Linked DNA regions of Homo sapiens: region 1 is linked to region 2. The links are contacts of gene promoters, found by promoter capture Hi-C in human tissues and cell types (Jung and others, 2019). All regions are on one chromosome and are shown on one strand. Each heading gives the region's core, a stretch centred on a gene start or on the middle of the fragment in contact. The rest is flanking DNA. Distances are from core to core; before and after follow the strand shown.

What was found. Contacts are between HindIII fragments. The study calls those that stand out against the background at their distance.
Region 1: a contact is called between a fragment that was not itself captured here and the fragment with the promoter of ASH2L in region 2, in 1 of the 25 tissues and cell types used here (spleen).

What each region holds. Positions count from the first base shown.
Region 1 is chr8:37,805,834-37,809,003 of GRCh38, reverse strand. All of the region lies in intron 1 of ADGRA2 (adhesion G protein-coupled receptor A2), which reads right to left. Among named protein-coding and RNA genes, the nearest start is that of ADGRA2, 11 kb to the right of the region's middle. The HindIII fragment of the contact is 6,704 bases long and covers 1-3,170 here.
Region 2 is chr8:38,103,590-38,106,931 of GRCh38, reverse strand. ASH2L (ASH2 like, histone lysine methyltransferase complex subunit) reads right to left here and starts at 1,403. Exons shown (of 16, transcript NM_004674.5): 1 at 1,194-1,403; 2 at 488-554. The coding sequence starts at 1,381. RefSeq lists silencers at 1,016-1,215, 1,546-1,635 and an enhancer at 1,306-1,435. The HindIII fragment of the contact is 26,659 bases long and covers 1-3,342 here.

The DNA of each region.
Region 1 (3,170 bases), core at 75-2,574, 300 kb after region 2:
TAAAAACAAAAATTAGCCAGGTGTGGTGGCACGCACCTGTAATCCCAGCTACTCTGGAGGCTGAGGCAGGAGAATCGCTTGAACCTGGGAGGTGGAGGTTGCAGTAAGCCAAGATAAATCATGCCACTGTACTCCAGCCTGGGCAGCAGAGCAAGACTCTGTCTCAAAAACAAAAATTAAAAATAAAAATAAATAAAGAAAGAAAAAAGTTTTTCTAGAGGTGAGGATCTCACTATGTTACCCAGGCTAGTCTTGAACTTCTAAACTAAAGAAATCGACTTGCCTCAGCCTCCCAAAGTGCTGGGATTATAGGGATGAGCCACTGTGCCTGGCTGGGTCTGGCATTTTTATGGGCAGGTAGAAAGCTGGGTGTTACAGCACTGCTGATGGGGATGAACATGCACGCAGGCCCATGCACACACACACACACACACACACACACACAGCTTCATCCAATGGGCAGAAAAATGTTCCCACCATTCTAGGCTGTCCCCTGGGAGGAAAGCAGGCAAAGTGGCCACAATTGGGCAGGGAAGGAGGGAGCCTTGGACCCACAGCTCCATCCAACACAGACATAGGGTCAGCCTCGGCCCTCTTCAACCCCCACAAGACAGACGCCTCCTCAACCTGCTCCGTCCTCTGACCCTAAAACCTCACGGGGGCCAGCCAGGTAGATGTCCTGCCCAACCACACACTAGCTCTGCCCCAGAGCCCTGGCTGGCCTGGCCAGGCATCTTCGGCTTCTTTCTTCCCTCCCTCCCACGCCCTTCTCCCACTCCTAATGTCAAGCTTTTCACAGGAAGGAGGGCCAGTCCCTGGAGTCTCCTGTTCTCTACTTCAGAGTTTGAAATCTGGCCAGAGAGAGGGGGCACACCGAGTCCATTCCAGAACTCTCTCCCGGCTGGGGTCCCATTTTGTGGGAGAGAAGCAAGCAGAGTTCCCACTAATGAGGCTGGAGGCCAAGGGAGCAAGCGGCTGGCGTCTACAGAGAGGCTCTGTGGGCTCTGGGCAGCCGCAGGAACGTACCAGATACCACCCCAACATCAAAGATGACCCTGCAGGAGTCACGTGGGCACATAGCACATGCCTGAACTAAATGTTTCTCACATGTGCGGGAAGAGTCATGCATGTCAGCCCCCTGCCAACCACTCAGACCCAATGAGCTCCTCTCTGGACTTGGGATATCCATACTCCCTAGGGAGTCTGATCCTGGAGCCTCCATCGGTTCAGGCCATCACTAGGTTCCTAAAGGTTCCCAGAGTCTGGGAGGCCCTGTCTCCAACACCTGCCACTGGCAGCTTGGCCGTGTCTTAGGGAAACCATCACAGAACTGGTAGGGGGCAGTCTGCTTGCTGATGCCAAAAAGCCCTGGGGCTCGAACACCCACCGAAATCAGAGCTCTCAGCCTCCCCTGCAGCCGCTGTGCCTTTGAGCATTTCCAGGGCTCAAAGAGATGCCTAAAACCTAAAAAAGAAGCATTGCCTCTAAAATATAGATGCTGCAAAGACGGAAATTAACCAATGCTTAATGACATAATTACCCAATGTCATACTATGTCATTAGCAATAATTATTATGTTCGATGACGGATGTGGGTACATTTTAGTATGGTTGATACGACAGTAAGACCTCCAAAAGTGAGGATGCTCGCCGTGCACAGGCCCTGTTTCAACACACAACCTCAAGCGAAAGGCTGGCCTGTGGCTTCCCGTCCCTCCGTGGCTGCCTTCACATGCATTTAGCCTGACTGCAAGGGACATAAATGTTGGTGAGGACATGTAAGGTGTTCTGCCCGCTCCTGCACTTCCCTGCCACCCTTCCCTGGGCTGGACGCTTGTCAGGTCAGCCCTGAACACCGACTGGCAATAGAAGGAGGCCTAGGGAGGGGCTTTAGGGGGTTGGGTCCTGAGACTGCCCCTGAACCCAGCCTGGAAGCTGGGCTGTCCAGGCAGGGCTGGAGGCCCAGGCCATGAGAGAAAACAGACCTGCAGTGAGTCCTGCTCCACCCTGCCTTCTCTCATAGGTCTAGTCTCCTTTCTCTAACCTACCCTCTCTACAAGGGCACCCCAACTTGGTGGTGAGCAGGGGGAACCAAGAAACTGGGGCTTGGATGGGAAGGGAATCTGTGGCTTTGGGACAGAATCTGGAGACAGAAGCCTAAGAAAATGGGCTACATGCCGGGCGCAGTGGCTCACATCTGTAATCTCAGCACTTTGGGAGGACAAGGTGGATGGATCACTTGAGGTCAGGAGTTCGAGACCAGCCTGGCCAACATGGTGAAACCCCGTCTCTATTAAAAATACAAAAATTAGCTGGACAAGGTAGCATGCATCTGTAGTCCCAGCTACTAGGGAGGCTGAGGCAGGAGAATTGCTTGAACCCAGGAGGCAGAGGTTGCAGAGAGCCAAGATCGTGCCACTGCACTCCAGCCTGGGTGACAGAGTGAGACTCGACTCTGTCTCAAAAAAAAAAAAAAAAGAAAAAGAAAAAAGAAAAAGAAAAAGAAAAAGAAAATGCCACACCCATAGGGGTCACATTGTCTGAAGCTACCCGAGGTGGTGCCAGAGAGGAAGAGGAAACAGTTGGGGGTAATCAGTATACCTTGATGGGGATTTGGGGGTCACAGCATCCTGGCTTGAGCACAAGGAACATAGTCTGCTGTAATCATCCACAGTTAGGTATTCATTCATTCATCCATTCATTCATTCATTGCTCAGAGCTACCTAACAGCCACTGTGCACTCAGCCTTGTGTAACAGGCTAGTCCTACAAACATAAATCATACATCACATATCTGCAAACTTCCATTCATAGGAGGTGGAGGGAGATGTGTCCAACAGGATGGAATGTTCATCTATGTGTGTGTCTGTGTCCCCCTGATTTGTGGAGGCTGGGAAATTACCCCCAACTGACCTTAAACATTTCCTCCATGCACAACCTAAAAGCCCCCCGGGGGGAGCCAAACTTTTGAGTGAAGAAAGCAGACCTCTTTGAGGGGTAGGTGGTGATGGAGGTCTCACTATGTTGCCCAGGTTGGTCTTGAACTCCTCTTGCCTCAGCCTCTGGACTAGCTAGTATGCCACCATGCCCAGCTAACAAAAAAAAGTGTTTGTTTGTTTGTTTGTTTGTTTTTGTTTGAGAAGGAGTCTCACTCTGTCGCCCAGGCTAGAGT
Region 2 (3,342 bases), core at 154-2,653:
TTGCCCAGGCTGGTCTCAAGTGATCCTGAGGTCTCAGCCTCCCAAAGTGCTGGGATTACAGGCATGAGCCACCGTGCCTGGCCTGAATGTATTTTTGATTCGCTTAAAAATGTAAAAACAAGGCCGGGCGCGGTGGCTCACGCCTGTAATCCCAACACTCTGGGAGGCTGAGGCGGGAGAATCAACTGAGGTTAGGAGTTCGAGACCAGCCTGGCCAACATGGTGAAACCCCGTCTCTACTAAAAAGACAAAAAAAAGAAGCCAGGTGTGTTGGCAGATGCCTGTAATCCCAGATACTCGGGAGGCTGAGGCAGGAGAATCGCTGGAACCCGGGGGGAGGAGGTTGCAGTGAGCCGAGATCGCGCCACTGCATTCCAGCCTGGGCGACAGAGCAAGGCTCCGTCGCAACAAAAAAAAAAAAAAAAGAAGAAGAAGAAATAACTAAAACAAACCCTATTTTGTCTTGCAAACAACTAAAAATACTTACTAGTGTATCTTTTCCATTAGATGATTCTGTCTCCAAGCCACCGCTTACATCGACCAAGTTTGCCTCCCTATAAGATAATGAAAGCGCTCAAGTAAGAATTCTCAAGACAAACCTCAAAATGCCTATTCCCAAAAATGATGATCAAATTACAGCCGAACTTCATACTCCTGCAGCTTTTTCAGCTAAGCCTGATCTCAGACTGGATGCCCAAGGTACTGTCAGGATACTGAGAAGGTGGACATGTCAGACAGTCGCGGACCCACGGAGCACAGGGAAGCCTAACCGGCCTTTACAGTCAAATCTACCTGGGTTAGAGTTGGTCCTGGGAGAGGTTCAAAGAGAGGCAGCTCTCCCACCCTGTTTTCAGAGTGACCGTTACTTCTTCCAGTCTGGCACTGCAAAGTGGTTTCTTTTCTGGAATATGTGAAGGCCTCCCGTTAAAGTGTGAGCTACCAGCTTCCTGCCAGGGTGCAAGGATCAGAGATAACGACAGGAGCCTCAGCTCCCACCGCCCGTGAAAGGTGCGGAAGGGGCGTTATCCGAGATATGCTTGAGAGGGGACGGGCCAAGCGGCGCAGAGGCAGGGCGAGCCATTGGCGGCGGGGCCTGGGTTCGCAGGGGGCGGGCGGCAGGGCTCCAGGAGCCGCGGGATTCGCGAGGGGCGGGCCTCCCTCCCGCGTCTTCCTCGGGCGGCAGGACCTCTTACCCGCCTTCAGCCTCCCCGGAACTGGGCTCAACTGTCGGAGCAGCAGAGATCCCCTCTCCAGGAGGAGCGGCTGCTCCCGCTGCCACCGGCTTCATCTCCCCCTCTTCTGCCCCTGTTGCATTTGCGACCGCTCCTGGGCCAGGCCCGGCACCCGCTTCCTGGCCAGGTCCTGCTCCTGCCGCCGCCATCACGGCCACCCCTGGACTTCTCGCGAGAATACTCTCTTCTCTCGCGCGCGTTGCTGTGTGACGCTGTAGTCTTCAAACAGAAAAAGCCCGCGGTGCGTCCACCGCCTGCCTGAGGAAGCATAATTCCACGACCGCTTTAAGGCCAGGCGCGCGGGCAGAGGTGGGCCGGCCTCCCGCGCCGGCGGTGGCCGCGGGCCTGGCAGGCTGAAGGTGGAGGAAGCTAGATGGTTAGTGCGGCTCTCTGGAGGACTTCCTTTCGAGTCAGGGACTGACGCGGCGTATTTTCGTGGCTACGACTGGATATTCTGCGCAGAAGAGGGTCCTTGAGAGCGCTGGCCGTGCCGTGCCGCCAAACACTCCTCACCACCGAATGTGGGAAACGTCTTCCTTGGAGTCTAGCACTCCCTGCCCGCCCCGGATGGAATTTGGTTTTCTGCGCAGGGTCGCCCCTTGGAGCCCGTTTCCAAATGATTTTAAGAGGGAAGGGAATCTAGGGAGGCCGATTCCAGGGGCGAGGGTGGAAAACCCAGGCCGGGCAGCCGAGGAGCGGCGTGGGCACTAGAAGCGGCTCGCCGCTTCCTACTGTGAGAGGCGGAAAGCGAAGCCCCGGGGTGTGCCGGGGCACTCGGAATGTAGACAAGTTTGGTGCCCAGCGAAAGGAAGAGGTGTGGACTGAAAGTACGAACTTGGGAAGTCATCAACAGTAGCTGGTGGCTGGCATCAGTGGAGTGAGTTGAGTCTTTCAGAGCCATGGTCTCCAAACTCGAGAATGCAAACCTCTGAGAGTGTTGCGGCCAGGAACGTTTTCAGGACACCAGTGTTTATCCTATATCCTAAAATGTTGCCTAACGATAATACACTCTTCTCCCGCTTTACACAAGAACGGCGCACCCCTCGCCAATCCTCAGTCTAATCTTACTGTGATGTGTCCACCGATAGTGTAGGAATCTCTGGGCCACTGGACGCCATGGGAAATACGTAGATATTGATTTCCCAATTGGTTCTCAATTATTGGTTTTCAACAAAATTGAAGAAAGACCTAACTGAGTTGCCAGGTTACATTTTTAAAATTGATGATAAATACTTAAATCAGGGGTTGGTACTCCAAAGAGAAGCAGGATGCTTGATCTAAGTATCTCCTCCCAAATACGTAGTATTGTAGCAGTTTTAACATATGGTCGCAGAATTTTGTGTTTTCTTGTTGTTGTTTGTTTGAGACAGAGTCTCGCTCTGTCGCCCAGGCTGGAGCGCAGTGGCCCGATCACGGCTCACTGCAACCTCCACCCCAGGTTCAAGCGATTCTCCTACCTCAGCCTCCCGAGTAGCTGAGATTACAGGTATCTGTCACCACGCCCGGCTAATTTTTGTTAGTAGAGGCGGGGTTTCACCATGTTGGCCAGGCTGGTGTCGATCTCCTGACCTCAAGTGATCCACCCACCTGGGCCTCCCAAAGTGCTGGGATTACAGGTGTGAGCCACCGCGCACGGCTTTTTTTTTTTTTTTTTGAAACGGAGTCTCGGTTTGTCGCCCAGGCTGAGTGCAGTAGCGCGATCTCAGCTCACTGCAACCTCCACCTCGCGGTTTCGGGTTCAAGCGATTCTCTTGCCTCAGCCTCCCGAGTTGCTGGGATTACAGGCACGCGCCATGACGCCTGGCTAATTTTTGTATCTTTAGTAGAGACGGGGTTTCACCTGTGTGTTTTTTTTTTTTTTTTCTGAGACAGAGTCTCGCACTGTCGCTCAGGCTGGAGTGCAGCAGTGGCGGCATCATACCTCACTGCCGCCTCAAGTTCCCCGGGTAAAGCAATCCTCCTGCCTTAGCCTCCTGAGTAGCAGGGACTATAGGCACGAGCCACCACGCCCAGCTAATATTCTTTTTTTTTTTTTTCTTTTTGAGACGGAGTGTTGCTCTGTCGCCCAGGCTGGAGTGCAGTGGTGCAATCTCCGCTCACTGCAAGCTCC